Regions from separate parts of the Homo sapiens genome. Here region 2 is linked to region 1. Evidence: promoter capture Hi-C in 16 types of primary human blood cells and fetal thymus (Javierre and others, 2016). All regions are on one chromosome and are shown on one strand. The core of a region is centred on a gene start or on the middle of the fragment in contact, and the rest is flanking DNA. Distances in the headings are between cores, read along the strand shown. Region 1 holds the start of MAT2B (methionine adenosyltransferase 2 non-catalytic beta subunit). Region 2 has its middle 18 kb from the start of MIR146A.

Region 1 (4,737 bases), core at 1,658-4,157:
TATCTAGAAGTCCTTAATGCTTTGTGAAACTTAAGGCCGCTCACTCCATCTACCATTTTCTCAGAGGGCAGCATAGTATTAATGGAAATGACCCGTTGCATTTTACTTCTTGCGTGCTGTTACCACCACTGCCTTTTACTCTCCTTTGAAATAATTAAAAGCACTGGGAAGGGAAAGCACTGGAGAATTTTACTAAACATAATCTGTTGCAATAAGGTGTAACTAAATAAAATGATAGAAAACTGTGCCTTTTAGAACAGGAATCAACTGCATGATCTGTGTGCTTTCCAAAAGTGTGGCTCACTCTTCTTTTGCAAAAGAAAACTACAAGGAATCTTGACAGGAAGTTGTTGGGTTTTTGTTTTTGTTTTTGTTAAGTAGTTAGTTCTACCAAATAGTTTTGCAAATAGACCCAGGCTTGACTGGCAATTAAACATGAAACTTCTCATTGGGTATTTTCGAGACTACTACGGGGAATCAGCTACCAGCTTACTGCCATGTGGAGAACTGCACGAGATTCCGGGATTGGAATCAAAATGCTAATTTAAAAGGTCAAGTGAAGCTGCTCCTCACGTTTTGGCGTGCCTGCGCTCTCTGCAGGCAGAAGCGAACAAAGACCCAGCAAGAGAAGGCAGAGGCTAAGACCCATCCCGTATCTGCTCTCCTGAAATAATTCTGGAGTCATGCCTGAAATGCCAGAGGACATGGAGCAGGTAAGAACTAGCAATTCAAGAAATGAAGCATTCTAGAGTAAGAGATGCTTTAAAAGCATTCCAGTGAACGCCTGCTAAAACCAGAATTGTTGTGTAAAGAAAATAGAAACGGGTGTCATTCATTTCCTTAAAACATAACCTCGGGACATGGAAGAATAAGCCAACTTTAGTTACTGACCCGGAGAACCAGGTTATGAAGGGCTCAGCTAAGTCTCACTAGCTGACAATACAGAATTGCACTTTCATTTACCATTTTAAATGCAATTATGTATATAAAGTTTCTACATAAATAAGGATTTTATCTGTAGTGTGTTCCTTTCCAGATGTTCTTTGTCTTTGTATGAATTGAATCTGCTAACATAACTTTTAGTTTCAGGCTGCTCTCTTTAAATGTATAGACTTAGCCACCACACGAAGTTGTATATTGTCTATGTTAAGAATGGCGTTTGATTCGCATAGACCCTACCATCATTAAAGAAAATGATTAAAAACCATATCCAAACATATGCCCCTAGAACTGTACCCAACTTTTACGGGGAAAGTATCAAGTCAGATTTTCAAAAGCAGCCAAGTTAAATTCTTTCTGTTCCTCAAGACTAGGCTGCTCTGAGAATCAGAATGCTAATTGCATATGCTTGCCCTTAAACCTGCTTCACGTTGAAGAATGAAGAATTAATTTTCTTTTCTCCCATAGAAAGGTAAGATTACATCACGTGTTGCGACTAGAAACTTTAAACCGAATTCCCAGTTAAGAGAAAAAGTAGTAAGATGATCTTGGCTGCTCCCCCGGCCCTCTTCCCGCCCTCTTCTTTGTTGTCCCCTGATTATGCTTGTTTAGCGCTGGGGCAGTCCTCAAGGATTCCCTAAATAAAGCCAAACTAATGAACAGTAATAGCCTGTGTTTAAAAAAAAAAAAAATCGGAACATAAGAAACCTCAGGCTGTCTTCGATTACTGTTCTAGAGAAACTTTATGTTTACACGAATAAGGAAATGAGTTTTTGTTGGGGGTTGAGGAGGAAGGAAAGTCATGGTGTTCTGACGTGGAAAACTTCTTTAAAAGGCTGCTTAGTCTTTAGTTTGAAAATAAACCAAAAAGGTTTAGGAGTCGGGGAAAGGCCCTAGGAAAATCCAGACAGTGGTCACGTTTGTGGACGACGTTTAGAGCTTGCTATCCTGGGCACACAAGAACCCTTGGACTGTTCGGTGCAAAGTTGGCAAATCCTACACGGCCTGTGCCAGGGTTTACTTTCTGCATCAATTTCACAGGCGTCCAGCCTGGCTGAGGATTTTTTGCGGTTTTTAACTGGAAGGGAAATAAGTCGGCATCAGCACTTAGGGCTGCTTAACTTTTAAAAGGTGGTAGAACGCCCAGCCTTACACGCTGCTGCTTAAATTCTCGGTGCTCACCAAGGCTGGGCTCGTGTGGCCCAATCCTGCAATCCCCGAGGCGGTGTTTCTTAAAGAGTGGGCTTGATTCTGGTTAAACCCATTAAGAAGTCGGACCCCGGGCTCGTTTCTTGTTCTGTAATTATGGGTAAAGTCCAAGGATCTGCGTTTTGAAGAGGTACCTAAGTAGTTCATCTTCCTTCCCCCTACAACTTTTTATTTTTAATTAGTTAAAAATAGTTTTACATTTTTGATATCTCACACACAGGTTTTTTCTTTTTTTAAGCATCCCAGGAAGACAAATGGCTCAGACGCCAACCCTTTTATTTTTATTCCTTGTCTTTTTCTAAATCTTTCAAAACCCCCACCTAGAGCTCTAGAGATGTGTCCATTATGCTCTACCCACCTCCGCCCCCGCCCCCATGACTTTAAAATGCTTTTTATTCCACTTTTTATATTGCTCAGTCGATCCTCATGCACTGCGCAGTCTGCAAACTTGAAACTCAAGGCGATCCACTTCAATCTTTTCCCGAGTCAAGAAAAAAAGGAAAAAAAGTAGAATAAAAAGCACTCAAATAAAATCTCCGAAACAAAACCTGAATTCACTGCCTAAGGTCAGGGCCTTTCTTTTGTGTGTCGCTTTAAGCATCGGCGCGTGGGCTGGGGGCAGACCGCGCGTACCCGCCCTCTTTCTGGGGCGTCGGCGGAGCGTGGCCAATCAACGGGCGCGGCTATGGCAGCGGAAGCCGGAAGCGGCGAGCGGGGTCGTTCTGGGCCTAGGGGAGGCGGGCCGAGGGCGTCTGAGCTGAGGCCCGCGTCGATCCTGGGTTGGAGGAGGTGGCGGCCGCTGAGGCTGCGGCGTGAAGACGGCGGGCATGGTGGGGCGGGAGAAAGAGCTCTCTATACACTTTGTTCCCGGGAGCTGTCGGCTGGTGGAGGTGAGGGAGTCGGCCTGGGCGTCTCCGGTGGGAGCGGGGGCGCCGAGGGGGACGAGCCACCGGGGCTCGGGCGGCTTTGCAGGCGTATTCCGCCCGGGTCAGAGCCTCCGGCCGGGAGTGGTCTCACCGCCACCCTCCCAGCCCCGGATCCGAGGGGGGCGCCACCGAGTTTGTTTATCTCAGCGCACACGGGTCAGTGTTTTTTTCTTCCAGCCACTGCGGCAGGAAGCAAGTAGGTGGAGGTTTTACTTTCGAGTTCTGTCTCTGCTCCTGAGGACGAAGAGGTTTTTCAGAATTGTTTGTTTTGATTTTGGTTTTCCCCGTTTATTCATCTTTGGTTCGTATTTCTCGATCTTACAAGTTCGTAGGTTTGAGAAAGAACAGGAAAAGGTGACTTCTCACAAATAACAGTGCTGGAGATGACAACTTATTGAACTCTTAAGTTCTCAGCACTATGTTATGCACTTGACGGGCATTACTTTAATCCTCCACTGTGAGATACTTGTTATTGCCTCATTTTGTAGACGAGAAAACGGGCATAGAGGGTGAGACATTGGCCCAGGTTCATTCCGTAAGGTTGGAGCCTGGAATTCAGATACAGGTTTGTGTGACTGTCTTGGGCTTTGAACCACTACGGAGTTTCCCTGAAGGAAGATTATGGTGATGATTGGAAGATCCATCTCTGGTGCCCCCCTCGCCCCCGTCCCATCCTGCTCCATTCCACTTAAGGGCCTCCAGCATTAATCTGTCCACAGAACATATCCAACCCTGGGGATAAGAACACTACTAATGCCCAGACCATGTCTTTTGGAGAGAGTAGAGAATATAGGAGATGGCTGTTTCTGTTATTGCAAAGTTTTCATGCTTCCAAATTTACTTAGGGTTTTCAAATCACTTTGGTTCTTTGAGGGTAAAGTTAGGATAAATGGTCTATTAAACCTCTATGTTCCTAGGTCCTCCAGACCGTGCTGAGTGCATGTTACATACGTTTACATTTATATGTATGCATTTGTATGTGTACGTGTGCATATAAAGCTTAATCTACTTTCACAAAAAGAAGTTCAGTATAAAAATGAAAATAGCTTTTCGTGTTTTCCTTCATTAAAAATGAAACAACGAAGAGCTTGGCACAGACTTACTGCTCTCAAAACCTGTAGAATTAAAGCTTACTGACTCATGAGAACGAGAACTGTCTCATAGTTAACGTTAGAGAAGCATCCTGGAGTGGTTGTTGTTAGTAATACTGTCTGTGGAGCACAGTAGCGTCGCAGTAGAAGTTAGACCAATCCCACCTAAGTAGTCAGAGAATCTTAAAAAGTAAAGCCCAGTAATGTTTACCTTAAGGGTCTGTTTCTGGGGAATTAAAAAATTAAACATGGAACTGTGCCAAGTTTTAAAGTTTCCAAAAACGACAAGGTATTTACCACTGAAATTTGGGAAAACCACATACTAATAGTATTCCATTCTTTACTTTTCTAGAACATTTTTAGTAGACATTAATGCAGGTGTGCTAAAGTAGAAATCACTGTCCCAGAGTACTGTGTTGGACCATTTGGAAGGAGCCATGTATCTCCCATTACCTATACAATTTGGTATCATTCGATTAGATACGATAATAAGAATATTTATTTATATGTACTTAATTTTTCAAGAAATGTTTTTTTGGTGTCCATAAATCTGGTCCCTTGGAGTGATTGAA
Region 2 (4,737 bases), core at 1,012-3,511, 3.0 Mb before region 1:
CACCAAGCAGCAGCAGTGGCATCTTAGAGATGTAAATTTCTGGGCCCACCCCGGACCTACAGAAATTGTGGGGGTAAGGCCCTGGACTACGTGGTTTAACAAGACCTCCATGTCTGATGCATGCTTAAGTTTGAGAGCCACTGGTCTAGAGAAGAGAAGACCCAGGCAGATTATGAGGATGATCTCCAGTTAACTGAAGGAGTCAGGAGGATGAGGTGTGATATGATATCCTAGAGGGCAGCACCAGAACTTTGGCTGGAAAAAATGGGAGACAGATTTTAGAACAATAGAAAGAAGACTTCACAAACAGTTAAGGCTGGTTTGAGAAAGATTTGTGCCTGGTGGGTAGTGAGCTGCTTGTTTCTGGGGGAGTTTAAGAAAGGATTGCATGACCAACAGTTGGTAGATATTGCAGAGGTCTGTGAAGTACACAGGAGAAGAGGACACTGAAAGAGGAAGCGTGCATTAGGAAGGCTCTGCAAATCAGGAACAGCAATTGAGGACTGGCATCCAAGAGCTCTCTCATTGCTATGGTAACAGTGGGGGTGGGGGTGGTAACAAGCTAATTGTGTTTATAAACCTCAGCTGGGGCTTGTTTCTGAGCACTTTCTTGAGTTAAAGGTGATTCCAGGATCCTGGTCTCTGCCATGCAACAAATCCTAACTCCTGGGACCAGGATCCTATTTTGAAATTGCTTATATTCCTATCTCTAGATTCTAGCTCCTCATTAGACTCTCTTGAGTAGGGTAGAAATTCCAATATGGGGAAACAGGTGGAGGAAATCTGATGATCAACCCAAACATCTCAGGACAGGAAGCTGCATCTAGAGTAATGAATACTAATTTCAAACCTATATATTGCATTCGGTGGGTAAAAGTGTGAGCGGTAGAAACAGAAGGCTGGATATCATCAACTGAAGAATGAGGAGGTTCATAAATTTGGAAAGGAGAGCTTTATTTCTCATAAAGGATTGCAGCCTGCAGGGTTGCCATTCTGACAGGGTGGGAAGCATAGCCTCTGGTCAGAAGCCCAAAACAGATACTCTGAGGGTGGGGCAAATGGAATAGAAATTTATGCTGAGCAGAGTGGTCGAATATACATATTCAATAAGCTATCAGAGGAATCATGAATATTTATGAAGGAGAAATATGCACACGTGCAATTGAGCTTCATCCCCCTGCTTGTGTCCCATGTACAAAAAATGACGGTGTTAGCATGATCTAAGGGTGGAGTTTTTGGCCCTTTGACATCAAAAGGTGAAGTAGACAGGAACACCCTTACTGTGCATTCTTTGTAGATTGGCCAGAACCACCCTGTGGTCGGTGGTCTCTTATCGGGCAAAAAAGGAGAGGCAGCATTAGGCGGTAGACTGATACCAGTGGTGGAGTCTTTTGAAAGGGCTGTTTTCTTTTTAAAATATTTTTAAATTTATTTTTTTATTTTCAATAGGTTTTTGGGGAACAGGTGGTGTTTGGTTACGTGAATGAGTTCTTTAGTGGTGATTTGTCAGATTTTGGTGCACCCATCACCAAGCAGTGTACCCTGTACCCAATGTGTAGTCTTTTATCCCTCGCCACCCCACCCTTTCCCCGAGTCCCCAAAGTCCAATGTATCATTCTTATGCCTTTTGTTGTTCTCATAGCTTAGCTCCCATATATGAGTGGGAACGACAATGTTTGGTTTTCCATTCCTGAGTTACTTCACTTCATCCAGGTTGCTGCAAGTGCCATTATTTCATTCCCTTTTATGGCTGAGTTGTATTCCATGGTGTGTGTGTGTGTGGCTGTTTGAGTGTGTGTGTATATATATATATACACACACACACCATATTTTCTTTGTCCATTTCTTGTTTGTTGATGGGCATTTGGGCTGGTTCCATATTTTTGCAATTGCAAATTGTGCTGCTATAAACATGTGTGTGCGAGTATCTTTTTCATATAATGACTTCTTTTCCTCTGGGTAGATACCCAGTAGTGAGATTGCTGGATCAGAAGGTAGATCTACTTTTGGTTCTTTAAGGAATCTCCACACTATTTTCCATAGTGGTTGTACATAGTTTACATTCCCACCAACAGTGTAAAAATGTTCCCTTTTCACCGCATCCACACTAACATCTATTATTTTTCTGATTTTTTGATTATGGCCATTCTTGCAAGAGTGAGGTGGTATCTCACTGTGGTTTTGATTTACATTGCCCTGATCATTAGTGATGTTGAGCATTTTTCCATATGCTTCTTGGCCATTTGTATATCTTTTTTTGAGAATTGTCTATTCATGTCCTTAGCCCACTTTTTAATGGGATTGTTTGTTTTTTTCTTGTTAATTTGTTTGAGTTTGTATCAGTCTGTTTTCACGCTGCTGATAAAGACATACCTGAGACTGGGAGGAAAGAGGTTTAATTGATCTTAAAGTTCCACATGGCTGGGGAGGCATCAGAATCATGGCAGGAGGTGAAAGGCACTTCTTACATGGTGGCAGCAAGAGAAAAATGAGGAAGAAGCAAAAGTGGAAACCCCTGATAAACCCATCAGATCTCATGAGACTTATTCACTATCATGAGAATAGCATGGGAAAGACTGGCTCCCATGATTCAATTACCTTTCCCTGGGTCGCTCCCACAACGCGGGGGAATTCTGGGAGATACAATTCAAGTTGAGATTTGGGTGGGTATACAGCCAAACCATATCAGAGTTCTTTGTAGATTCTGGCTATTAGTCCTTTGTAAGATGTATAGATTGCGAAGATTTTCTCGCACTCTGTGGGTTGTCTGTTAGCTCTGCTGATTATTTCTTTTGCTTTGCAGAAGCTCTTTAGATTAATTAAGTCCTATCTATTTATTTTTGTTTTTGTTGCATTTGCTTTTGGGTCCTTGGTCATGAAGTCTGAAAGGGCTACTTTCTGTTAAGCCCTTAGGGAAGAAAGGCTAATGATGGTTAATGAGGGAGGGGGTATAATGATGTGTATCTGAGTCTCCTATCCTGTCATGGCTGAGAACTCAGTCTTCAAGTTTACTCTGGGATCCCCTTGGCCAAGAGATGGTCCATTCAGTCAGTTGGTGGGGAAGGGGGGGGCTTTGAATTTTACTTTTAGTTTATGATATATAGTTGCATGACCTTGAGCAAGTTGCTTTTCTCTGCCTTATTTTCCTTGTCTCTTAAGATGAGACTCACATTAGTTGCTACCTTAGTGGATTGTTTTCGGATTGAGACAATAGCACTGTGCCCAGTACATGTTAAGCACTCAATATATTTAAACTATTATCATTGCTATTGTTGTTTTATCTCAATGAACTTCTAAAGTGCCTCTAAGGAGGGTAGAATAGATATTATTAACCCCATTTTACAGCCTCAGAAACTGAAGCAAAGGATATTTAAGACTCATTATGACATCATACTGCTTCACTATTGCTGGCAGGATAAAACTAGGACTTAGTTTTCCTAACTTCACGTGGACCGGACAAGGGACAGGTTCTGTACGTGTGTTCTAGAAAGGGGGACAGAATTTATTTTTTGAAAAGGCAATATAAGCACATAAGTAAAATTCTGCAAGAAGGTGTGCAGTGAAAAATAAACCTCCTTCCTATCCCCCTCATCTCCAGTTCTTTGGTCCCTTCCTGTTGACAGATCCTGTGCATCTTTCAGGAGCTGTTTCATGCATACACAAGCCTAGTGTGGGTGTGTGTGTGTGTGTGTGTGTGTGTGTGTATCCCAGGGGACTGTTTCTACAAAAGGCCCCTTCCTGCTCCTGTCCCTGATCCAGGTGTGTGTGTGTGGTGTATATGTGTTTGGGGTGTGAGGGGTGTGTCTGTGCGCATGTGTGTGTATGGTGTATGTGTGTGGGGTGTAAGGTGTGTGTGTGTGGTGTATGTGTGTGGGGTGTAAGGGTTGTGTGTGTGTGGGTGTGTGTGTGGAGCCTGTGTGTGTATGTGTGTGTGGGGTGTGAGGGTGTGTGTGTGGGGTGTGAGGGTGTGTGTGTGGGGTGTGAGGTGTGTGTATGTGCACATGTGTGTGTATGGTGTACGTGTGTGTAGGGTGTAAGGTATGTGTGTGGTGTATGTGTATGTGGGGTGTAAGGGGTGTGTGGGGTGTGTGTGTATGTGTGTGGAGTCTGTGTGTGTGTGTGGGGTGTGAGAGGTGTGCGTGTGCGGTGTGCGTATGTGTGTGTGAGGTGTGAGGGGTGTATGTGTGTGTGAGGGGTGTGTGTATGTGTGTGGTATGTGGGGTGTGTGTGTGAGACATGTGTATTTGTGTGTGTGGTGTGTGTGGGGTGTGAGGGGTGGGTGTGGTGTATGTCTGTGTGTGGGGTGTGAAGGGTGTGTGTGTTAGGTGTATGTGTGTGTGGTGTATGTATGTGTGGGGTGTGATGGGTGTGTGTGTGGTGTATGTGTGTGAGGGGTGTGTGTATGTGTGTGGTGTCAGTGTGTGTGTGGTGTCTGTATGTGTGGGGTGTGAGGGGTGTACGTGGGGTGTGTGTGGTGTATTTGTGTATGAGGTGTGAGGGGTGTGTGTGTGTGGTGTGCGTGAGGGGTGTATGTGTATGTGTGCATGTGGTGTGTGTGTGGTTTATGTGTGTGTGGGGTGTGTGTGGGGTGTGAGGGGTGTGTGTGCATGCATGTGTGTGTATGGTGTACTTGTGTGGGATGTGTGTGTGTGGGGTGTGTGTGTGGGGTATGTATGGGTGTGTGGGGTATATGTGTGTGTATGTGTGTGTGGGGTATGTATGGCAGGCCCAGTCCAG

The links. Contacts are between HindIII fragments. The CHiCAGO score rates a contact against its expected background, and 5 or more counts as called.
Region 2: a contact is called between a fragment that was not itself captured here and the fragment with the promoter of MAT2B in region 1, in 5 of 17 cell types (non-activated CD4 T cells, naive CD8 T cells, total CD8 T cells and 2 more). The highest score is 15.2, in non-activated CD4 T cells.

The regions. Positions count from the first base shown.
Region 1 is chr5:163,502,712-163,507,448 of GRCh38, forward strand. MAT2B (methionine adenosyltransferase 2 non-catalytic beta subunit) reads left to right here and starts at 2,908. Exons shown (of 7, transcript NM_013283.5): 1 at 2,908-3,038. The coding sequence starts at 2,976. RefSeq lists enhancers at 217-1,025, 361-410, 2,641-3,447, 2,665-2,754, 2,795-2,914 and a silencer at 3,085-3,224. The HindIII fragment of the contact is 7,455 bases long and covers 1-4,071 here.
Region 2 is chr5:160,500,501-160,505,237 of GRCh38, forward strand. No RefSeq gene overlaps it. Among named protein-coding and RNA genes, the nearest start is that of MIR146A, 18 kb to the left of the region's middle. RefSeq lists an enhancer at 4,358-4,737. The HindIII fragment of the contact is 5,828 bases long and covers 1-4,737 here.